Regions from separate parts of the Homo sapiens genome. Here all the other regions are linked to region 6. The links are contacts of gene promoters, found by promoter capture Hi-C in blood cells and fetal thymus (Javierre and others, 2016). All regions are on one chromosome and are shown on one strand. The core of a region is centred on a gene start or on the middle of the fragment in contact, and the rest is flanking DNA. Distances in the headings are between cores, read along the strand shown.

The links. The method cuts DNA at HindIII sites, captures the fragments that hold promoters and counts their contacts. A CHiCAGO score of 5 or more calls a contact.
Region 1: a contact is called between a fragment that was not itself captured here and the fragment with the promoter of GPD2 in region 6, in 1 of 17 cell types (erythroblasts). The highest score is 6.4, in erythroblasts.
Region 2: a contact is called between a fragment that was not itself captured here and the fragment with the promoter of GPD2 in region 6, in 3 of 17 cell types (M0 macrophages, M2 macrophages and M1 macrophages). The highest score is 9.2, in M0 macrophages.
Region 3: a fragment that was not itself captured here is called in contact with the fragment with the promoter of GPD2 in region 6 in 1 of 17 cell types (erythroblasts); the score reaches 7.2 in erythroblasts.
Region 4: a contact is called between a fragment that was not itself captured here and the fragment with the promoter of GPD2 in region 6, in 1 of 17 cell types (erythroblasts). The highest score is 8.3, in erythroblasts.
Region 5: a fragment that was not itself captured here is called in contact with the fragment with the promoter of GPD2 in region 6 in 2 of 17 cell types (endothelial precursors and erythroblasts); the score reaches 7.4 in endothelial precursors.
Region 7: a fragment that was not itself captured here is called in contact with the fragment with the promoter of GPD2 in region 6 in 1 of 17 cell types (neutrophils); the score reaches 5.9 in neutrophils.

Annotation. Positions count from the first base shown.
Region 1 is chr2:157,268,260-157,271,817 of GRCh38, forward strand. All of the region lies in intron 1 of GALNT5 (polypeptide N-acetylgalactosaminyltransferase 5), which reads left to right. Among named protein-coding and RNA genes, the nearest start is that of GALNT5, 12 kb to the left of the region's middle. The HindIII fragment of the contact is 1,406 bases long and covers 933-2,338 here.
Region 2 is chr2:157,416,938-157,420,654 of GRCh38, forward strand. CYTIP (cytohesin 1 interacting protein) reads right to left here. Exons shown (of 8, transcript NM_004288.5): 7 at 1,586-1,652. Among named protein-coding and RNA genes, the nearest start is that of CYTIP, 25 kb to the right of the region's middle. The HindIII fragment of the contact is 974 bases long and covers 893-1,866 here.
Region 3 is chr2:157,224,378-157,227,559 of GRCh38, forward strand. No RefSeq gene overlaps it. Among named protein-coding and RNA genes, the nearest start is that of GALNT5, 32 kb to the right of the region's middle. The HindIII fragment of the contact is 439 bases long and covers 1,421-1,859 here.
Region 4 is chr2:157,250,027-157,253,360 of GRCh38, forward strand. No RefSeq gene overlaps it. Among named protein-coding and RNA genes, the nearest start is that of GALNT5, 6.0 kb to the right of the region's middle. The HindIII fragment of the contact is 4,490 bases long and covers 1-3,334 here.
Region 5 is chr2:157,197,145-157,200,506 of GRCh38, forward strand. No RefSeq gene overlaps it. Among named protein-coding and RNA genes, the nearest start is that of GALNT5, 59 kb to the right of the region's middle. The HindIII fragment of the contact is 954 bases long and covers 1,586-2,539 here.
Region 6 is chr2:156,434,488-156,438,172 of GRCh38, forward strand. GPD2 (glycerol-3-phosphate dehydrogenase 2) reads left to right here and starts at 1,892. Exons shown (of 17, transcript NM_000408.5): 1 at 1,892-2,026. RefSeq lists silencers at 994-1,163, 1,604-2,013 and an enhancer at 1,404-1,453. The HindIII fragment of the contact is 5,965 bases long and covers 1-3,685 here.
Region 7 is chr2:157,314,093-157,317,590 of GRCh38, forward strand. It overlaps GALNT5 (polypeptide N-acetylgalactosaminyltransferase 5), which reads left to right. Exons shown (of 10, transcript NM_014568.3): 10 at 1-3,498. Among named protein-coding and RNA genes, the nearest start is that of ERMN, 10 kb to the right of the region's middle. The HindIII fragment of the contact is 823 bases long and covers 1,792-2,614 here.

The sequences.
Region 1 (3,558 bases), core at 386-2,885, 830 kb after region 6:
AGGCTACATTCAAATCAGGTTAGTGGCTCAGCATTCAGCACACAGAAGCCAGGAGGGTGGGACGCATCACTTTCTGGGTCTCTCGATAAATGGTTGAGCACTTGATAGATTCAGATTAAAGGACTGCTTCAGAAAAAGGCAGTGTGCTCCCTCAAAATGTGTGTATTTGCATTATGGGTAATCGTAGGTTCTCACATGAGTTTTTCAGCATGAAGCTCACAAAATATTTTTACATCCATTATCTCATCAAATCTTCACCACTGTTCTGTGATGAAGGCATTGTAATCTTCATCCTAAAAGTGAGGAAACTAAGGTTCTAGGGGCCTAACTGACTTGCCCATGGCCATAGGGCCAATAAATGCTAGAATGAACTAAAAACTTAGTCTCTTGTCATCTTTCTCAAGTCCAGAGTCTTTCTGTCCACCACAGTAGTATGTCAGCTAAGTGCAGGATAGTGAAACTCCCCACATTAGAGGCCCCATTTGTTTTTAGAACTTGGATTGGCTGCAGTAATCTAAGCCTAGATTCCCCCCCAAGACAAAGAGATTGGATTAATTTTTTAAGTATAGCATGGGACCAGTAGACTCTAAATACCTAATTTGTATAATAAATAGGCATATAGAATATAAATGTGATTTCTTAGCCTCAAAAAAGTTACAAACCTAGAAATATCTGGCATTCAAATTAGACTTTAGCAGCAATTTCTCCTCCCATGATATAGGCAGAAATTAAGGAAAAACTGAAATAAAGGAAACTTGCTTGAATTAGGTTGGTGTAGGATAACTTGAAATGGTTTTTACAACCTATGCCAACTAGATGACATAGTGTCTGCCCAGAATATTCTCCATTCTCCTCAAGCCCCTACCCTATTACATTAGCAAGTAACCTTTCTTCCAGTATGAAAGACTAGAGTAAGAGTTTAAAATGCTGAAAGCTTTGCGGGGGTTTCCCACTGTTCCTTTGAACAAAACAAGCACACTAGTTTTGCTAGATACCCGGAAACATGTTTAATCTGTTTAGTAATGCAGGAGAACAGGTCTCTGTAAATGTCAGAGTGCCTTGACATGTCAGTCACCCCAAATCAAGGCACACCCTGAAACTTTGTATTGGAAATCTCAGGCATCTCTTTTGGGTCCCTCTTTCCCATCCTGTAATATTGCTTTTACCAGGCACTAATATGATCTGTACCATATAATCTTCCACAGAATTTCTTCATTGTAATTCTTTAAACACATCTAAGATATATATTTGTCAACAATTGGCAGAGGTACTACTTATTTGCTGGGATATTAGCATCTAGTGGAATCTCTCATGATCTGCCCATGTAGGGTACTAATAGTGAAATTAAGGCACCATGACATAATCGGGGGAATAGAGGATTAGATATTTGGTGATTAGAGGTGTCTTCCCCAAATCTCTCAAATTTCTGAGAATTTTTCTTACCTCCAATTTTAGACTGTCTAGCACTTTTTAGAACTTCCTTCTAAAAAGGACAAAAACTCTACTAATTTAAAATATAGGAAGAGTCATTTGCATGAGCCTGCTTAGTTAACTCCTCCTGATACAATTCCTTTTGTCACTGGATGTTTCTCAGACCAACCAAATTTTAACCATAAAGCAACTCTCAGGACTTCACAGCCGGGCTTGTTGGTTTATGCCGAATTTGTGTAATTGATCCTTTCTTTTCAGAACTGATTTGATTTTTTTTTCAGCACCAAATACCATTAAAAAAAATGTAACTGTGAAATGTGAATTTCTCATTAATTTATATTATAAAGTTAGAGATGAGGAAGTCATAGGCTGTAGCTGTTTTCTTCTGTACCCTCCCTTTCACTCAGGCTATTAAACTCCCCTTAGCTTTACTTCCTCTTTCCCTGACCCAGAGCCCATGCCGGAACATTCAACCACCTTACACCAGTCCCCTCAAACCTCACTACCCATTCTCTTTCTACCTCATGTGCTCTGATATCCCTTAGACTCATATTAATCCAGCAATTTGCTTTATCTCTTCTTACACGCAGGCTGGCAGGCACTGGTGGAGCAAATCATATATTGAAATTTCATAAAATTTTGGCATCTCCAGTTTCAGGAAAGTGCTCACTGCCCCTCTGAAATCCTAGCTAGCTGGCCAGCATTCTCTCCCATTGCCCATAGTATCTGTCCAAAATATTCTCCATTCTCCTCAAGCCCCTAGCCTATTACATTAACAGATAACCCTTCCTCCAGTATGAGCTATGAATATTTTCAACTTCTCATCCCATGTGCATAAATATATTTGTATACGTTACCACCTTTTTGTACTTTCTATCTCAAAGGGAAATATTTCTTCCACTATTTAAGCTTTAAGTTCCATCTCATCTCCATCCATTCATTCATGCATTCAATACATATTTATCAAATATTTATTGTGTAACTGTGCTGGAAGCTTGTGGTACTGTAGTAAGCAAGGCAGATTTGTCCTACCCTCAGAAAATTTTGGATGCAGAAGATAAGGAAATAAGATTGATAGATGAATGCTGTGACAGAAACACAATAATAGAGAATAATAAAAGAATAGTTAATTTTGAGAGGGTAGGCCAGGTGCAGTGGCTCACGCCTGTAAACCCAGCACTTTGGGAGGCTGAGGCGGGTGGATCACAAGGTCAGGAGATCGAGACCATCCTGGCTAATATGGTGAAACCCCGTCTCTACTAAAAATACACAAAAATTAGCCAGGCGTGGTGGCAGGTGCCTGTAGTCCCAGCTACTCAGGAGGCTGAAGTAGGAGAATGGCGTGAACCCGGGAGGCGGAGCCTGCAGTGAGCAGTGATCACGCCACTCCACTCCAGCCCAGACTCTGTCTCAAAAAAAAAAAAAATGTGAAAGCGTTGTCAGAGACGGCATCTCTATGAAGGGAATATTTAAGATAGGAACTAAAGGAATAGAAGCAGCCAGCTGCGAAGACATGGGAAGGGTAGCAAAAATGCTAGAAGTTAAGCAAATAACAAAAGCTGGAGTGTTCTTCAGGGAACTGAAAGAAGGCCAAGGTGGAGTGTGTGAGGGGAGAGTGGAATGACAGGCAGTTGGAAAGTTGAGCAGGGGTCCTATACACTAAAGAATTTGGATTTTTTTCCTTTTCACTTTGTCCCATAGAAATTGACTGAGGATTTTAAACAGAAGAGTGGTGTTGATCTGACAAACTGTGGAAGTAGTGTCCCTTTAGGAGACTCCAGCAATAATCCTGGAGAAAGAGAGTGGATGCTCAAGAGCTAGGGGAGGCAACTGTGGAGGTATAAAGATGTTATAGCTGAGATATCTGTTGGCAACACACAGAATAGAAGTTGATGGATTGATTGTATTTATGGTCAGGAAGAGGGTGAAGTCTAGATGAGAATCCATATTTCTGCAGCAAGGTGGGTGGCGATGCCATTATGAGGGAAATGCAGAGGAGCTGGTTGGGTTGAGTGGGGTGAAGTCAAGGTTTCTGTTTCAGACACATTATGAGTGAGATGCCTGTGAGACATGCAGAGAAGATGTTCAGAAATTGTTTGGATATAAGTTAAGTCTGCAATTCAGATG
Region 2 (3,717 bases), core at 130-2,629, 980 kb after region 6:
CACACTAACTGAGTTGGTTGGTATCTTGTGTGTGTGTGTGTGTGAGAGAGAGAGAGAGAGAGAGAGAGAACTTGTAATACCAGCCTTGGAAAAACGTAATCAGTAAGTGACTATGCTTCAGAAAAAATAATAGAATACTGTACACTCTAAAATGGTTTTATTTTGTACTGATTATCTCCACTGCTGCTGTCTTTTGTCCTCGGTTGACAATATAAAAAGAAACTGTTCTTTCAGATGATTTGCAAGGTTGAGTACAGCCAGCCCCATGGTGACTAGTCATAATGCTTTCCTTTTTGCTAATACAACCTACTTCATTTCATCTTGCAATAAGTGATGAATTTCTTTTGATTGGAGAGCAATTGCCTTATAGAATCACATGCCCTGGATGTTTACTATACATCTAGAAAAAGCAGAACTCCTTCAATTGCTCAAAAAATATGTACAACAATGACTTTATGAGGATCCTGACCTAACAATGTTGTCTATACAAGGCTGTTTCTATAGAACAGCAAGAATTTATATTCACTGGGCCATTCAGGATGCTCCAGAAGTGGAAATGAGGCTAAAAAGCCCTCATGTCTAAAGAAAGCAAGGAGGTGGCTGAATTTACAAGGCCATAAAGAAGTTTTTGTATTAAATATTTCTGCCTCTCTAACAAACTTCACTACCCAAAAGAACTATTATGAATTTTTTAAAAATATTAAATGAAGACATAAAAAAGAGAAGTAACTTGTACATAAGTTTCAAACACTTCAATTTAAAAAAAAAAAAACAGAAGTTCATACCAGAACTCTAAGCCATAAATTAGTGACTAGTTAAGGATTAAATTGTTATCTTTTTTGGTAAACAAATTGATTATCACTTTTAACAGATATTCTAGGTTACAGACTTAAGCTTGGTGCTATTTAAAGAAGAGATAAGCTATATTTCACACCCACGTAGTGGTTTCAGTGAATTATTTGTACACAAAAGTTCATTCCTTTGGTTACATCTATCATACAACAAATAGCGAATTAACACATTTTAAACTCAACCCTTCCCTTAAAAATGCACTCAATGGCAAGAGCTATGCATTTACTGTTGTATTCATCTTACGCATTTATGTCTTTGTCTTGGGGGCCATGAAAAAGAATTTCTCTGCATAAATGCAACTTATGCAATTTAAACAAAAGACAGGAGCTCTACCCAATAAGTGTGCAACCATTCCAGCTTTAATAGCTTCTAAAAACTATACAGCCCCTTAGCCGTGATTGTTTTCAGAAATGTAATTCATTCACTGAAGTAGAAGGAAAGTTAGGCAATCTTCCCCAATGATTTTCTAAAATCTCCAGGTGCCTGTTTTCGAGCATGTGCATCTGTGTGCATGTGCATCTGCGTCATGATACGCAGTAGTGGATCTGACTTGCCTTACCCCTCCTCCAAATACAGCCATTCCAAAGCTCATGCCAAAGAAACACAGACCCATTTCCTTGACCAGCACTAGACAAATTTTTCTTATAATGATGATAATCTTAAACCAACTTTGAGGCAGAAATACTGAAAGAAGTAATGTTAGTGTGGTTTCTGAACAGGAAATTGCATTTACCATGAAGCAGACGATGTTCCTGTAACTGCAGAGATCTGTACTCCACCCATTTTTGTTTCAAAGTTTGCTGTGAGATTAAAAAAAAAAAAAAAAAGTTTTTATTATTAGGAAACCCCAGTGAAGCTAGCAATTTAATTCTAGGTGTTGAGATTTGTCATTAAATTTTTTACCTTTCTTTCTAGTACTACCATTCCATCTCATCCATTTAAAATATTTTTGCTGTATAAAAGGAGGATATTGAGAATACTATGCCCTCAAAAAATAATCTAGTAGTACCAACAAGCTTTCTTTTAAAAAACAAGAAAAACAATAAAATATACTTTTATTTAAACAATTATTTTAATAAGATTATTTGGGTTTGTGAAAACGTACTTGCTGTTTAGGCAAGGATTTATACTCTAGGATTCCCACATCTGTAGGATGAAGACAATAATAGAGCCTAAACCCCAGAAATGTTATGAGGATTAGATGAGTGCATAGATGTAAAATTTTTAGAACAGTGACTAGAACTTAGTTAATGCTCTACAAATATCACCATCAACATACAAGCCCAAAGACCTCCACCTCCCGGGTTCAAGCAATTCTTCTGCCTCAGCCTCCCAAGTAGCTGGGATTACAGGCACGCCCCACCATGCCCGGCCAAATTTCTGTCTTTTTAGTAGCGACGGGGTTTCACCACGCTGGCCAGGCTGATCTCGAACTCCTGACCTCGTGATCTGCCTACCTCAGCTTCCCAAAGGGATTACAGGCGTGAGGCACCGTGCCTGGCTTGGACAGCTATTTATTTTCCACACAAAAAAGGAGAACAGAACTATCTGAAATGCTTCCTTAGCGGGCTAAACTTAGAACACTGCTAAGCACCCTAACTTCTTAACTGCCTCCCTTCTTGGCTGCCCCAGCACACGAGAGCTGAGACCCACAGTGGGAATTAAGTAGCTGCCACATGGGTCAAGACAGCACACAAGTCTTGGCCTATCCCACAGAGGGGACTGAGGCAATGGCAATCTAAAACAAACCAGGCAGAAGGCATCTGAAAAGACATAGCCATAGGCTCACTGTCTCCCATTATTTATTCTCTACTGTTCCCCTTCCTTTGCAAATTCAGGTCCCTATAGCAAGCCTAGCAAGTGGGCACAGCTCAGGTTTGCCTGTGGACTCTTAGGCCAAAGGAAAGACAGCCTAGTTGAAACAAGCAATCCTTGCCACAAAGCAATCTGCAAGGAGTAGATGAAGGCTAAAAAGGAAGAGGCAAAAAATGTATATTTGGAGAAGGATTAAAGGAAAGAAAATAATAAAATTGCAAGAACGTCATTAAATGCTTAAGAGGAACATGGCTTGTTCCTCAGTCTTCAAAGATTGAACAATAACTGGGCAGAATTTTCCAAACTTTGATACTAGTAACAATTAACAGCAACCCTTATGGTTGCCAATATAAAATCGAGCAATAAATCAATCAAATGCTTGACTCAATCAACTTCTTGTTCTTTCTGTACCATAATATAGTCTAGACTAGCTTTAATACTGCTTTGAGGGCTGAGGGCAGTGGCTTACGCCTGTAATCTCAGCACTTTAGGAGGTTGAAGTGGGAGGATTGCTTGAGACCAGGAGTTTGAAACAAGCCTGGGCAACATAGTGAGACCTTATCTCTACAAATTTTTTTTTCTAATTAGCTGGGTATGGTGGTGCACACCAGTTCTTAAGAGGCCGAGGAGGCTGGGCACAGTGGCTCACGCCTGTAATCCCAATACTTTGGGAGGCTGAAGCAGGTGGATCGCCTGAGGTCAGGAGTTCAAGACCAGACTGGCCAACATGGCGAAACCCCATCTCTACTAAAAATACAAAAATTAGCTGGGTGTGATGGCAGGCATCTGTAATCTCAGGTACTCGGGAGGCTGAGGCAGGATAATCACTTGAACCTGGGAGGCAGAGGTTGTGGTGAGCTGAGATGGCACAATTGTACTCCACCCCAGGCAACAAGAGCAAAACTTTGTCTCAAAAATAAATAAATAATTTTTTTAAAAAAGAGGCTGATGTAGAAGGATCACTTAAGCCTGGGAGGTTGAGGTTACAGTGAGCTATGATCATGCTACTGCACTCCAGCATGGGCAATAGGGTAAGACCCTGCCACAAAA
Region 3 (3,182 bases), core at 390-2,889, 790 kb after region 6:
AAATTTGGGGTAAATTCCTCCCACAGACTATAAACTACTTCAACCATTGTGGAAGACAGTGTGGTGGTTCCTCAGGGATCTAGAACTAGAAATACCATTTGACCCAGCCATCCCATTACTGGGTATATACCCAAAGGATTATAAATCATGCTGCTATAAAGACACATGCACACGTATGTTTATTGGGGCACTATTCACAATAGCAAAGATTTGGAACCCACCCAAATGTCCAACAATGATAGACTGGATTAAGAAAATGTGGCACATATACACCATGGAATACTATGCAGCCATAAAAAATGATGAGTTCATGTCCTTTGTAGGGACATGGATGAAGCTGGAAACCATCATTCTCAGCAAACTATCGCAAGAACAAAAAAAACAAACACTGCATGTTCTCACTCATAGGTGGGAATTGAACAATGAGAACACTTGGACATAGGAAGGGGAACATCACACACTGGGGCCTGTTGTGGGGTAGGAGGATGGGGGAGGGATAGCATTAGGAGATATACCTAATGTAAATGACGAGTTGATGAGTGCAGCACACCAACATGGCACATGTATACATATGTAACAAACCTGCACGTTGTGCACATGTACCCTAGAACTTAAAGTATAATATATATATATATATATATATATATATATATATATATATATATATATATATATAAATATAAAAGCTGATCCACCATTATCAAGTAGGCTTCATCACAGGAATGCAAGATTGGTTCAACATATGCAAATCAATAAATGTGATCACCTAAATAGAACTAAAACAAACACCACATGATTATTTCAATAGATGCAGAAAAGGCTTTCAATTAAATTCAATATCCCTTCATGTTAAAAACCCTCAATAAACTGGGCATTGGAGGAACATACATCAAAATAATAAAGCCCATCTACGACAAACCCACAGTCAATATCATACTGAATGGGCAAAAGCTGAAAGCATTCCTCTTGAAAACCAGAACAAGACAAAGATGCCCTCTCTCACCACTCCTATTCAACGTAATACTGGAAGTCCCAGCCAGAGCAATCAGACAAGAGAAAAAAGAGGCATCCAAATAGGAAGAGAGGAAGTCAAACTATCACTATTTGCAGATGACATAATTCTATACCTAGAAAACCCCATAGTCTCTGCCCAAAAGCTCCTTCAGCTGATAAACAACTTCAGCAAAGTTCCAGTATACAAAATCAATGTACAAAAATTAGCAACATTCCTATACACCAACAACATCTAAGCAGAGAGGCAAATCAGGAATGCAATCCCATTCACAACTGCCACAAAAAGAATAAAATATCTAGGAATACAGATACCTAGGGAGTTGAAAGAAAAAAATAAGATTAAGAGTCACCTCTGAGTTTGAAATTTTGGATTTAGCTAGATGAGTTAGCTAACACTCATATTTGAAGCTTATTTCAGACTCTACAGTGTAGTAGATATGCAATTTATATATTTTTATCTTTTTAATTGGCCTTTTATTCAGTAATCTTGCTAAATTCACTTAAATTGTAATAATTTATTTATAGATGCCTGAGGATTTCTTAGTTATGCAGTTATATCTTCTGAAATGCAATGACAATTGTATTTTTTCCTTCCCAATTCTTGTAGTTCCTTTGTCTTGGTTGACTGTATCAGTTAGGCTCTTCAAGACAGCATTGAAGAATATGTAGTAAATTTGCAGCCATATTGTTCCATTCTTCAAATCCAGATGAAAGTTTCTGGCATTCCCCATTAAGTATTATATTTCTGGATGTTTTTGTAGATACCCATTATTAAATTAAGAACTCCCTTCTATTCACAGTTTGCTAAGATGTTTGATCATGAATGGGAATTGAATTCTAGTCTAAGCTTTTTCTGTATATATTGAGAAGACTATATGATTTTTCTTTTTTAATTTGTGAAGTCCACGGATTTTTATGATGATAAACCAATTTTGCATTCCTATAATAAGCCTAACTTAATCATGATGTATCATCCTTTTTGTGTATTGCCATTCCGGGTTTACTAATACTTTGTTTAGGGATTTTATATCTATGTTCCTGAGTAAGATTGGCTTGTCAATTTTCTTACTCAAAATATTCTTAAGAAGTTTTCATTTCAAAGTTACGCTTGCCTCATGAAACAAGTTGAGGAATGTTTTCTTTTTATTTTCTAGTAGAATTGCTCTAAATTGATGTCTTTGTTCTTGTGGAAAGAAGAGATATTGTTTGATTGGTCAGCTTAGTTTGGTTTTATTTGGGTTAATTTGTTTACTTTTTGAATTCAGAATTCAATATTTTAATAGCAAAAGATATTGATGGTTTATACTCTTATTATTTCATATTAAAATTTTATATTAACACTCTTATTTCTTATTTCCATTCTTGCATCAGTTTTGGTAAGTTTTGATTTTTTAGAAATTTCTCAATGTCACCAAAATTTTCAAATGTATTACTGTAAGTCATTCATGATATTCTCCTTCGATATTTTTTGTTTCTGAAGGGTCTATAATAATGTCATTTTTTCCATTTATTATATTTGTTATCTGTCCTCTTTTTTTCTTGATCATTTTACCAAACATTTACCCATTTTATTAGCCTTTTCAAGTTAATCTATTTTATTTGCCTGTTAGACTTCTGGCTTTGTCAATTTCTATATTTTTAAGAGAAGCATGTTTAGATTTAGCTTTTTATTGATACATAATATTTGTACATTTTGTTACATGCATAGAATATGGAATGATCAAGTCAGGGTATTTGGGCTATCCATCACCTCAAATATTTATCATTGCCATGTGTTGGGAATATGTCAAGTTCTCTCTTCCAGCTATTTTGAAATCTACAATATGTTGTTGTTAACTATAGTAAATCTACTGTACTATCAAACATTATTTCTTCTATTAATTGTATGTTTGTATGTATGTTTGTGCCCATTAAACAATTTTTATTCATTCCCCCAATGCCCCCCACCCCCCACCGCCAACACACACCCTTCCCAGCCTCTTTCTACTCTCTATCTCCATGAGTTCTATTTTTTTAACCTCTCACATTTGAGTGAGAACACATGATATTTGTTTTTCTGTGCCTTGCTTATTTCAGTTCACATAATAACCTCCAGTTTCATCCATGTTGCTGCAAATAACATAATTTTATTCTTTTTATGGTCAGGTAGTATTCCACTGTGTTTATTT
Region 4 (3,334 bases), core at 727-3,226, 820 kb after region 6:
AGTTTTGGGCTCATTGACAATATGTCCTTCAGGAACCTGCTCACTTTCTCCATTTTAATGACTAGCACAGTTCTTTGTCCAAGGAAGATACTCAATTAATGTTTTGCTTTTAAATTTATTAAATTTTTCCTAATTAAACTAAAATATTTTTTAAGTAAAAATTGGCTAGGGACCTGTAAAGTAGTATAGCACAAATGTTGGCTTAGCCTCACTACTCAAAAATCAATGAAAACTGAGGTCTAAACACAATAAATTGTCTTTCAATAATAGGGTTCTTGTTTTTTTAAACTTAGGCTTAACCAATTATGATTTATCACTAATACAGGCAACCCTTTTCAAGAACAAATGTGTAAAGGGTATACTGATTCTCTTGGTCTTAGGAAATAAGGTCATTTGTTAGTCAGCTTCCAAATTTTATTTAAAAAGAGACATACACCAATGTTTAATGACTGCCAGAAGTTGTAACTATTCATCTTCATTGGAAGAATTAGTTAAAATGGAATAATATTTCCATTTGTATTTTTACTCTACCTGTTGATATTGCAATAATGCCTGCCTTTTAGTATATGATTTTAAAACTTTTCTTTCCTTTTATGGATTTGTTTCACAGGATGTTATTATCCAGTTGATTACAACTTGTCTCTTCTCTAAAAAAGAGAAAGAGAGAATTTGGAAAGAAAAAAATCACATTAAAATCCGAAAAAAACAGTAATTAGTATTTACTTGGTTTTCCCATTTAAATTTTCTAATTAGTATCTTCATCCTGTATTGTCTGAAGTCGCAATGAGTTGAAATTAATTATCCATGTGGATATCCAATTTTTCCAACACCATTTATTGAATAAACTACCTTTTCCACTTTATGCATTCTTGGCTGTTTTGTCAAAGAACAACTGATTGTAAACTTGTGGATTTATTTCCGGGCTCTCTGTTCTGTGCCATTGGTCTATGTGGCTGATTTTATGGCAGTATCATATACTTTTTATTGACACAGAGTCTTGCTCTGTCACCCAACCTGGAGAACAGCAGTACAAACTCGGTTCACTGCAACCTCGACCTCTTGAGCTCAAGCTATCCTCCCACCTCTGCCTCCCAAGTAGCTAGGACCATAGAGGTGCACCACGATGCCCTGCTAATTTTTTTATTTTTTGTAGAGATGGGGGTCTCATAATGTTGCCCAGGCTTGTCTCAAGACAGTAGTATACTATTTTGATTGCTATAACTTGGTAGCATATTTTTGAAGTCAGGTACTATGATGCCTCTAGCTTCTTCTTTCTCAAGATTTTTTTGACTATTCGATATCTTTTATGGTTCCATACAAATTTTAGGATTTTTTTTCTATGTCTGTGAAAAACGCCAGAATTTTGATAGACATTTTATTGAATTTATAGATGACTTTGGTTTGTATGAACATTTTAAGAATACTAATTATTTCAATCTGTGAACACAGTATATATTTCCATTTGTTTATGTCTTCCATTTCTTTCATCAATATTTTATAGTTTTCAGTACACAGAGATTTCACCTTCTTAGTTAAAAATGCTTTCATCTCCTTGGTTAAAAAATATTTATTCCTAAGTACTTTTATGCTATTGTAAATAGGCTTGTTTGCTTAATTTCTTTGTGGTTTAAAATCAACTCAATGTTGATTAAAGACCTAAACAGAAGACCTAAAAGTGTAAAACTACTGAAAGTAAACACAGGGAAAAATCTTGACATTGGTCTGAGTGGTGATTATTTGGAACTCCGAAAGCACAGATAACAAAAACAAAAATAGACAAATGACACTGCAGGAAACTAAAAAGTTTCTGCACAGCCAAGAAAACAATCAACAGAGTGAAAAGACAACCTATGGATGACAGACTATATTTGCAAACCATACATCCAATAAGGAGTTAATATCTCAAATATATAACCATGTTTATTGCGCTCCTACTGATTGACAAAGAGCTCAACTCAATATCAAGAAAGCAACTGGATTTAAAAATAGGGAAAAAAAATGAGTAGACCTTTTTCAAAAGAAGACATACAAATGGCCAACAGGCATATTTTTAAAATGCTTAACATCACTAATCAGTAAGGAAGTGCAAATCAAAACCACAATAAGATATCACCTCATACATTTTGGAATGGCTATGATGAAAAAGATATAAGATAACAAGTGTTGGTAAGGATATGGAGAAAGGGGAACACTTGTACACTGATGGTGGGAATGTAAATTAGTACAACCATTATCGAAAACAGTGTGGAGTTTCCTCAAAAAAACTAAAAAATAGAATTACCATATGACCCAGCAATCACACTTCTGGCTATATATCCAGAGGAAATTAAATCAGCACCTTGAAGAGATAGCTGCAGTCTCATGTTCGTTGCACCATTACGCATAATAGCCTAGATATGGAATTCACCTAAGTGTCCATCAACAGATGAATGAATAAAGAAAGTGCAACATACATACATATATATCACACACACACACACACACACACACACACACACACACAAGAATGTTATTTTGCCTCAAAAAAGAAGAAAATCCTATCATTTGCAACACTGTGGATGAACCTGGAGGACGTTACACTAAGTGAAATAAGCCAGGCATAGAAAGACAAATACTGCATGATCTCATTCATATGCGGAAGCTAAAAAATTGAACTCATAGAAGTAGAGAGTAGAATGGTGGTTACTGCGGGTTGGGGGATGGAGAAAGTTGGAAGGTATTGGTCAAAGAATACAAAGTTTCAGTTACGCAGGATTAGTAAGTTCTGGAGAGCTAATGTACAGCCTGATGACCATAGTTGATAATAATATATTGTATACTTGAAACTTGCTAAGAGAGTAGATCTTAAATGTTCTCACCACACACAAAAAAAGATAATTATGTGAGATAATGGAGATCAGCTGCATTGAGGCAATCATACCACAATGTATAAGGCTATCCAAAGTCATGTTGTACACCTTAAATATTTAATATATGTATCATTTTATTAGTCAATTATAGCTCAGTAAAACTGGGGAAAAAGAAATTCAGTGATGCATCCATGGATAATCATTATTCTCTGTAAAATATACATTTAAATTAATTTTCCTTTTACATCTTTCTTTTTACTTAGGAGTGAGTAGTTGAGTAAATATCATAAAATAAAACAGATATTAGTTACTTAGGATATACTCACATAGTCAAGAAATCTTCAAATACCCAGATAAAGTAACTGTAGATGCAAAGCCAGAGAGCTGGAACCGGTGTTTCTAAGATTCTGTACTTCCATCAGGGAGATTTAAGGCTAGATATAAAACAGTGTTTACTGAGCTCCTACTTGATTAACAATGAGGAT
Region 5 (3,362 bases), core at 813-3,312, 760 kb after region 6:
CTCTAGCCATTCTGTTACACCAAAGGGGCCGGGGTGGGAGGGGTGGGGCTGGATGCAAGAGGACGGTCTAAGAAGCACTGGTGAAGTTTACAGTTCAGGGGCATAGGCTTACCAGACGTCAGAGACCTAACTATAGGACTACAGAATGCTTCTCTCTGCCTACACTTTACAGTACGTTACTAAAAACCTATTTATCAATTTGTATTATTTAGTACGTCAAATCCACCTTAAAAGAAAATTTAACAAGAAATACTAAAAGGTTAAAAACACAATTTGAAGAGACTGAATAAGCATCAGAATCAGTCAGATATAGCAGGAATGTTGAAATTAGCAAACTAGGAATTTAAAAATATACATATATATGATTAATATGCTACAGGTTTTAAGGCAAAAAGTAGACAACATGCAAAAACAGATAATGTAAACAGAGATATGAGAATTCTAAGAAATAATTAAAAAGAAGTGCTAGAGATAAAAAAATTGTAATAGAAATAAAGAATGCTTTTGATAGGCTCATTAATAGACTGCGCACAGCTGAGGAAAGAATCTCTGAGCTTAAGGATATGGCAATAGAAACTTTTAAAACTGAAAAGCAAAGAAAAAAAGACTGAACGAAAAAAATGAACACAATATCCACAAACTGTGGGACAACTATGAAAGGTGTAACATATGCATAATGGGAATACAAGAAGGAGAAGAAAGAGAGAAAGAAACAGAAGCAATATTTGAAGTAATAATGACTGAGAATTCCCACCAAAGTAATGGCACACATCAAATCATAGATCTGGGAAACTCACAGAACACTAAGAAAGACAAATGCAAAAACAAAAACAAAAATAAAACAAAATGACACCTATGCATATTATATTCAAACCTTGGAAAATTAAAGATAAAGAAAAAAAACACACCTAAGCACATTTAAAAGAATATAAGTCATATTATGTCTGCTCTCAAACCACAATGGAATTAAACTAAAAATCAATATCAGAAAGATAACTAGAAAATTCTAAAATAATCAGAGATTAAACAACACGCTTCTAAACAACACATGGATCAAAGAAGAAACCCCAATGGAAATTTTAAACATTTAGGAATAAATGTAAATGAAAATACATTTTCTTGGCTGAGCGCAGTGGATCATGCCTATAATCCCAGTGCTTTGGAAGGCCAACATGGGAGGATTGCTTAAGGCCAGGAGTTTGAGACCAGACTAGGCAACATAGCAAGACACCATCTCCACAAAAAAAAAAGAAAAAAGAAATAACTAGCCAAGGATGATGGTGTGTGCCTGTAGTCTCAGCTACTAAGGAGGCTGAGACAGGAGTATCACTTGAACTTGGGAGATCGAGGATGCAGTAAGCTATGATCATACCACTGCACTTCAGCCTGGGTGACAGAGGGGGACTGTCTATAAACAGAAAGGAAGAACAGAGGAAGGAAGGAGGGAAAGAATGTAGGGAGCAGGAAAGGAAAGAAATACAATTTATCAAAACTTGTAGGAAGCAGAGAAATCAGTGCTTAGAGGGAAATTTATGCATTGAATACATACATTATAAAAGAATAAAAATCTAAAATCAATCACATAAGCTTTAAAGAGAATAGAAAATTAAATCAAAATTCAGCAAAAGAAACAAATAAAAATAAATCAAAATTGAAACTAGGAAATCAATTGAGAAAATCAACAAAACCTAAAGCAGTTTCTCTGAAAAGGTTAATAAAATTGATGAGCCTCTAGCTAGGCTAACTAAGAAAAAACTCTCAAATTACTAATATCAGAATGAAAGAGGGCGCATCACTACAAATCTTAAGGACATTAAAAGGATAATAAATGAATGTTACAGACAACTATATGTACACAAAGTTGATAACCTAGATGAAATGGACCAATTCCTTGAAATACACAATTTACCATAACACACAAAATAAAAACTAGACTCTCTGAATAGGTCTATTTCTATTCAAGAAATTAAATCAATAATAAATAATCTTCCAAAACAGAAAACACCAGGCCCAGATGAGTTCACTGGTAAATTCTATTAAATATTTAAGGAAGTAAATATATCCATTCTCTACAATCTCCTCTAGAAGACAGAAACAGGGGGGAATACTTCCTACTTCATTCTATGAGTCTAGTATTACCTAATACCAAGTCAAGACAAAGACATTCCAAGAAAAGAAAACTGCACACAAATATCTCTCATGAATATAGGTGCAAAAATCCTCAAAAAATATTAGCAATTGGATTTAACAATGTATAAAAAGAATTACACATCACAAGTAAGTAGGAATTTGCTATACAAGGCTGGTTCAACATTTAAATCAAGTAATATAATCAATTACATCAATAGGCTAAATAAGAAAAATCACATGACCATATCAATAGATGCACAGAAAGCATTTAATAAAATCCAATACCCACTCAAGATAAAATCTCTCAGCAAACTAGAAATAGAAGGGAACTTTCTCAACTTGATAAAGAACATTTATAAAAATAAAAAAAAACTACAGATAACACCATACTTAGTAGCGAGAAACTCAAAGCTTTTCTTCTAAAATCAGGAAACAGGGAAAGTTATCTCTCCTCATTGCAGTTTTCCAACATCATATTGGAGGTTCTTGCTAATGCAATAGAATAAAAAAGTAATAAGAGATATAGAGATTTTAAGAAAAAAAAACTGTTTTTGATCTATGTTGAACATCTGAAATGATTGAAAAAAGTCTCTGGAACTAATATGCAATTAAAGCAAAGCTGTGGGATACAAGTTTAATATATAAAAGTCAATTATTTTTCTACATATCAGCAATAAAAAATGGAATTTGAAATTAAAAACATATTACCATTTATATAAGCACTCAAAAAATAAAATACTGAGGTATAAATCTAACAAAATAGTATAAAATTTATATGAGGAAAACGATAAAACTCTAATGAAAGAAATAAATGTGGAGGCATTCCATGTTCATAGGTAGGAAAACTCAATATTGTGAAGTGGTCAATTCTTCCCAACTTGATCTATAGATTCAACATAATTCCAATCAAATCCCTAGCAAGTGATTTTACGGATACTGACAAACTGATTATAAACTTTATATGCAGAGGTAAAAGACCCAGAATAGCCAACTCAGTATTAAAGGAAAAGAATAAAATTGGAAGACTGACACCACTTGACTTCAAGATTTACTATAAAGCTACAGTAATCAAGACGGTGTGGCATTGGTGAAATTAATTCAAATATGGATCATCATAGGCCTAAATGTAAAATGCAAAACTATCAAACTCTAGAAGATAACATAGGAGAAAACCTAGATGACTTTGGCTATGGCAATGACTTTTTAGACACACCACCAAAGGCACAATTTAT
Region 6 (3,685 bases), core at 642-3,141:
GTCTATAGATTGTTCTTCGTATCACAAATTCCAGGAACATGAAGATATGGTTGGGTAGTCAGTCATGAACAAAATGCCTTTAAACAATCGCCTCTGAGCATGAGTGTGGGGGGTGCAACTTATGTCCCATATTCAAGGTCTCTCTGGGCCTGATAAATTTTGCATACCTCACATTGCTCAAATGCTCTGAACTATTTTTCTTTTCTCAACTACAATTTCCTTTTTCTGGTTGCTCATGATTCAACTGGGGGAGCTTTTAAACCGTGGTTCTCAAACTTTAATGTGCATCAGAACTACCCAAAGGGCTTGTTAAATCTGGGTAGCTCAGCCCCAGCCCCAGAGTCTATGAATCAGGTCACTGGAGTACAGTTTCTGTCAAGTTCTCAGGTGATGCTGATGCTGCGGGCTCCAGTGACTACACTTTTAGAGCCAGTTTTAAAATACAAGGACTTGCAGATCCCACGTCCAGACTGACTCATTGGACTTGGGGATGGAAATCTGGCATTCCACCCCTCCCTGCCCCCTCCCCCCAATTTTAATGTGTCCAAGGGTGAGAATCATTGCTCCTCTGTGGACTATGGATGGTTCCCTGAAGTTACTGAGTTTGGGATTTAATAAATATATGCATTCCTCTGGGTCAACTACAGGAATTCTGCGGTATTTAAGGACATTAAATGAGTGACTTAATACTTTATTTAAAAAAATACCACTGCTTTTTGGTTCACACTAATTTTCTTCCTTCTTTTGGAAAGGCATTTCCGTCCATCTCCTGGATATTTTCCAATACCACGATAGAAAGGTTATTAGTACAGCACCCAGAGGTCTTCGGAGCAAAGCTGTTAAAGAAGTGGGGTCCATTTGAGCCCCAACTTTGCCTTCCTTAGGTCCCCTTGGGCTTGTCTAGCCCTAGGAGTTCCAACAAGTAAGCTGGGCATGCTCAGTGGGCAGGGTCGTTTTTTTTTTTTGGGTGGCGGGGGGTTGCAAGTGGGAAGCCTGCTGTTCAGCTGCCGGGGCTCTCCGCCTCCCCCCACCTGTATGAGGCTGGGTCTGGGGAACCTGTGCTCAGCATTCCACCCCCTGGAGCTTGGGCTTGGTCTTCCCTGCGGGTCCCTGCGCTGACATTCAGGCGGGGAGCCAGGAGGCCTGGCGCGCCTCCAGAGCCCGCCGGGGGAGCCGGGCGAGGGTTCTGGGCTCTGACGGCGGGGTCGCAGGGTCGCCCGCCTCCTGGACACGTCTGTAGGCCTAGGGAAGCCTGCCGGCCGGGAGGTACAGAGTAGGAGAAGCCAGATCCCAGGGCGGACAACGAGAAGTCGTCAGGTAAGCCAGCCCCGCCAGCGTGCCGGCGGACGAGTGTCTCCTCTCCCGCAGGCAGATGGCCAGGGCGGCCCGCATGGGCGAGGGCACAGGAAATCGGACACCGCCACCGTCTTCCCCAGCCTGGCCTAGCTCAGGCTTTCCAGTCCGCCAGCCCGCTGGCAAGGCGGGGCGGAGGTCTGGAGTCCGGCATCGCCGAGGCACAAAGCAGGAACTGCAGCCAGGGGCGAGGGCCCTTGCGTGTGGCGCTGCGCGACCCCACCCGGCGGCAGGACCCGCGTCCCCGTCTAGTCACGTTCATTGGGCCACGGAGACCACCTCGCTCGCCGCCCGCTGTTGGCTTTTCCCTCCCACACCCCCGCCAACCCCGGCCCCGGTTCCCGCCCCCACTTCCGCGTTTCCCCGCTGGGCCGGAGGAGCCTGGGCCCGAGGTATCCGGGCAGGAGGTGGCGGCCTCGCCGCCCTGGTCAGGCCTCCGGGAGGGAGCAGGCGCGGGAGCGGGAGGAGGAAGTCGGGAAGAGGGAAGGCGGGGGCGCGGCCCGCCCGGCGCTCGAGTTACACCCGCCCAGCCCGCCTCGAGTGACAGCCCCGCGCGCCTCGCTGGGAGCACCCGGGCCGAGGCTCTGATTCTGGGGGGAGGCCGACTCCACCCTGGCTGGAGGAACTGGGTGCTCCTGCCCGCTGGCCCCTCGCGCGTGAGGATCTATCTCAGGTGTGTGCTTCCTGGGAGACCCCTTCCCCCGCCTCTAGTATTCTAGGGGGGGAGTGGTCCCTTTCTGACCCGGGCGAGTGTTCTGGGACTCCAGTCTTGGCGGTAGGTGGTGGCGGGAAACGGGAAAGATTTAGAATTTCTTCCCACCAGCAGAAGATGGATTCGCTCTTCTCTAGGGTTTCGTTGTTTATGTTTTGGAGGCGGCATTTGTAAAATAGTAAAGTGGCAGGACTTTTGGGGCGAGGGTTGGTACCCCATTGAAAGTTCATGCAAACTTTTAGCTTGTAGATGCGGCTAGTCTGATAAGGATTGTTGCTCCCTTCCGAAGCAAGAGTGAGAACGAGTCTGGAGGAGGGCTGAGGCTTCTTTGAGAAACTCAGCTGCTGGCGTGTGACCGTCCTAGGAGGAAATGGAAGGTGCACACTGATAACTTAAAACAGCCTCCACTCCCTATGTAGTAACTTCTACCAGCAAAAATAGATTTGCAAAGAGTGCTTTGGCAGGAAGGTGTAGCTGGGTGAATGAAGTGCTGCTCTTAGCAGATGGTCTCTAGTCTGGCTTCCACCTTGTGCAGTGGAATATTCACTCCCAGAAGAGTTCCAGAGTAATTTACAAACACAAATTCTTGCAAAGTGTTAGTGACATGGGCAACCCAAATCACACACAACACATTATAAATATCATAGGAGGCAGCTATAGAAATAGCAGCTAGTCAACTTATACTTGTATAAATAGGTGAGGGAAGGAAGTTAGTAAGTGACAGGGAGTCTTTATTGCTAAAACAAAACTGTTAGTATTTTGCATGTGTTCCAAGTTTAAAGAGATGTGAAGTTTCTTTTTGGCGTGTGGACGGTGCTGGCAGCTGTCACACTGGGCCCAGGCACTTCTTCGTAGCTACTGACCACTCTAGTCCCAGTCCTACAGTTCTTGCTGGCTACCACATGACATCTGGATGCCATTGCCCAATGGAGACCGTGTGCAGTCTGGGGAACCTTGTGATGTGGATGTTGAAACCCCCCTCTGTTTCTCACAGGGGCGTTATGTCAAATTACAACACTCCCTTGACTTTTACAAATCAACTCGTGAAATAATACAGCAATATTTTAATGAATAAATGGGTAAATATGGGGTTTTGGGTTTGAGAACCAACAATGGATTCATTGCAACTGTCCATTCTCATAGCTTATAGAGTCACTTTATTTTATAAAGAAATTCTAAACAGCATTAGAGCTCTGCTTCCTTCTTTCTCCCTTGTGATTCATTCAAAGATGCAATGGCTTGGTTCAGGAATTGACAAAAGGGCCACAGTGTTACCAATTGTTAGTGAGTGTTACCACCCCCTTTAGTTTTTTTTGTAACTATTTAATCTCATTGTAGATATTTTAAAAGATTTGATGATTATTGTGCATAACTCATGTTGGCAAACTATTATAACTCTGAACTTATCCTGTTTGGTTGTTTTCTTTCATCTCTAGCGTGTAAGTTCTATGAGAGTAGCAGGGCTTGTTCTGTCTTGCATACTTTCAAAACTCTAATGCCTGGAGTGGTGACTAGCTTGTAATACACCCTCAATAAATGTTTTCTCAATGAGTGACCTCCAATGCCTAGAGGGGTGACTAGCTTGTAATACACCCTCAATAAATGTTTTCTCAATGAGCG
Region 7 (3,498 bases), core at 953-3,452, 880 kb after region 6:
CTAGTGATAAACCTTTGGATGAGACAGGTCCTAATCAGCACTGAATTCTTCAATAGGAGGCTGTGTTACAGGAGCTACAGATTTTTCCCTGGATTAGCTTAGGTCATTGCCTTTACTTTAAAAAAAAAAAAAAAAAGTCTATGCATCTTGTTACCTTGAATACAAGGGTGGTCTTGATAATATTTGACAGCACTAACCAACTTACCAAGCCATCTAAGTGCTTCTGAGACTTTTCAGTTTGCACAATTTCTTTCTCCTTTTCAACAGTTACCCAGCGCTTCTGCCCTACTCTCTTGTAAGCTGACACAGTTGTTGTTGGTACAATCTTGTTCTATCACCAGCATCAAATTTGCTTAATACTGCTTGTTGACATCCCCTCAGCTGTCATTCACAGCAAACCACCATGTGCCATGATCACAATGTATTATTAGCTTCGCCACACTAATTTGGAAACATTCTTTTAGATATTAAAACACCTTACTTCTAGTATTAGTTTGGGACTGCAGAGGGGCAAAGATACCATTTACAGTATATAGGAGTCCAATATTCCCAACCAACCTTGATTTCATGAATGGCTTGTAATTATTTCTAGCAGGCACTCATGCAATAGAATAAGATTGAAACATGCCAGAGAGTACCATCTTTCTTTGTTTTAACATCTCTGATTGAATTCCTATATTCAGAATACAAGAAAAAAAATTTACCAACCAGGCGCAGTGGCTCACACCTGTAATCCTAGCACTTTAGGAGGCCAAGGTGGGTGGATCATGAGGTCAGGAGTTCAAGACCAGCCTGGGCAACATGGTGAAACCCCGTCTCTACTAAAAATACAAAAATTAGCTGGGCATGGTGGTGGGCGCCTGTAATCCCAGCTACCTGGGAGGCTGAAGCAGGAGAATTGCTTGTACCCGGGAGGTGGAGGTTGCAGTGAGCTGAAATTGCGCCACTGCACTCCAGCCTAGACAACAGAGCAAGACTCTATCTCAAAAAATAATAATAATAATTTTTACCTCAGAAGAAAGCCCCAAAATCTTGGATTAAAACAAAAAAATGACATTGGGTGATGGGAAAAAAGAAAGGAACTAATTATCATTGAGTGTGTGTAGGTACTATTTGTGTAGGTGCTATATGTGTCCCATCTCACTGATGGGTACAACTCATCAAATGACTCTCATTCTCCCTGTTATATGAACAAGAAGGATAACTCCCACATACAGATGAGGAATTTGGTAAATTGCCCAAGGTCATCCCACAAGTAAGAGATAAAACCCAGTTTCCATTTTATCTGGCTCAAAAAAAATTTCTCTCACTATACCATGCTGCTATATAATTAATTTTCTTCTTTACAAAGGGCTGTCATCTCAGGTGGGTGCATTTAAAAGTTTCTTGGTCTCAGATTACTGATGCCACAGTATTGAGATGAGATTGAATTAAACCCCTTTGGCCTCTTTTGGATGTTGTATAAACAGAAAAAAGAAGCATGGTCTCTCTCTCTCTGTGGTAACCAATTGATGTGTAGGTATAAACATGGCTACCCCCACATGTTTTGCTGTGATCTATCTCTTTGACTTCATGCAGAACCTATTCTTTTTCATCTCCTGGACCAAATGTGAAAGAAAGAAGTGGACATGTGGAGGATTCTTTCTCTGTGAATAATATTGAAAAAGCTCCATTTTCTGGGGAAATACCCATGGTTCATTGTCTGATGCCAAGAAAGAATTCAGGACACAGACACACATGAGGAGTGGGTTTAGGAGTGGAAAGTTTAATAGATAAAGAAGAGAGTGAGAAAGCTTCCTCATGTTGAGAAAGACAGTTGCTCAAGAGAGGGTTTTCTGGGTTTGGGGCAAGATTTGATTGATTTCATACAGAGGCTTGAGGAGGCGGTGATTGATATACATAGGGCCCGGGGATTGGTTTAACCAGGTATACTACTTACATAGCCGGTGAAAAGACTGGCCCTCCCACCCTAACCTTTTATTATGCAAATGCATCTTCTACCTGGCTGTCACCATGACATTTGCACACGTGGCTTCACTTCACCAGTGCCATGTCACCCACACACCTGGTGACAAGGAAAAGGGAGCAGGAATCACCATATTGAATGTGCCTGGCTTCCAGGTACAGCTGCTAGCTTTACATATGGGAGCCTCTAGCTTGCATATCTATACTTGCAACTTGACTTTTCAGGCTGCTTTTTGTTAGAAAATAAGTGGCTTGGGGGCTGCTTTTTATTAAAGGAAAAATCCACCGAGAACTATTTTACCCTTTCTAATGGCCTAAAATAAATTTTTAATGACTCCTGTATTAATATTACCAACCCTTGATCCCTCCAACCTTTAATCAAAGCTAGCAGATTGCTCATCTTGAACAGAAATAAAAAGTTAAAAAGTTGGAGTCCTTTAAAACACAAACCATGACTTTTTATTCCTACTCATTGTGTAGGTTGTCACTACTGTGCTTTTGCAACAACTTTTGCATGGGTTACTCAATAGTTGCTACAAGACAAAATGCCTTACAATTAGAAAAAAAAATTAACCAGAGATATTGTACAAAATATTTATTTTTTGACAGTTTTGAATAAGCCATATAAAGTATTATATATCCCTAATGAAGCTTAATGGATAGTATTCCAGGTGTTGGTGGTGTCTGTATCTCAAAGAAAGAAAAAAATAACATCACACTAAACAGATTTAATGCCTCTGTTTTCAACCTAATGGAACAATAGTTATCATTTCAATTAGAGTCGCTTTGCAAGTTTATGTGAATCTTTGCTTTGTAAAAACACATACAAAACACAAGGGAAAATTCTCATTTTCCAGCAAATACAGCAACTTCTAATATGCTGTTTCTAATAATGAGTCACCATCAAATAAGTAATAAATATTTTTTTCAAAAACAAGAGCTTTCTGTTTTATTATTGATTGACAGATATTTACCAGTTTAAGGATATTGGTCATAAGCATCTATATAATAAACCCTTTATATTAGATGTTAAATTAAAATTTTTCATAGCATGAATAGATTTTTAAGTGACCACTCAAAAACATAGCAATTTTTGTAAATATACTGTATGTGTGTGTATATATATATATATATATATATATTTTTTTTTTTGATGCTTTGATCTGGAAGAAAGAAATATCAAGAGTTTCTATTCACAACATAAAGAAAATAAAATGTTTTTAGATATTTTTAACTCTTTCAGGTGTATAGCTTTGTCTGCATCTGGCCTTCTGCACAAAAGTATCTCAAGTGAACTTACACTCTGGATACCATTTTCCAAACTTGAAGGAGTAATCAAGTTCTTAATTATCAGGGTGCTTGTTATTTAGTTGAAGATTACACACATGTCTTCTGCTTCAAACAACTACCCCAAATTTGCTAGTTTTATACATATTAGCTTAAAAACAAGAGAAGCCAAAGATTAAGTAAGTGAATTGTGTTAAAGATTGCCTGAAAACATTTGCTAAGGGGAGAATAAAACTAAAACTGTGG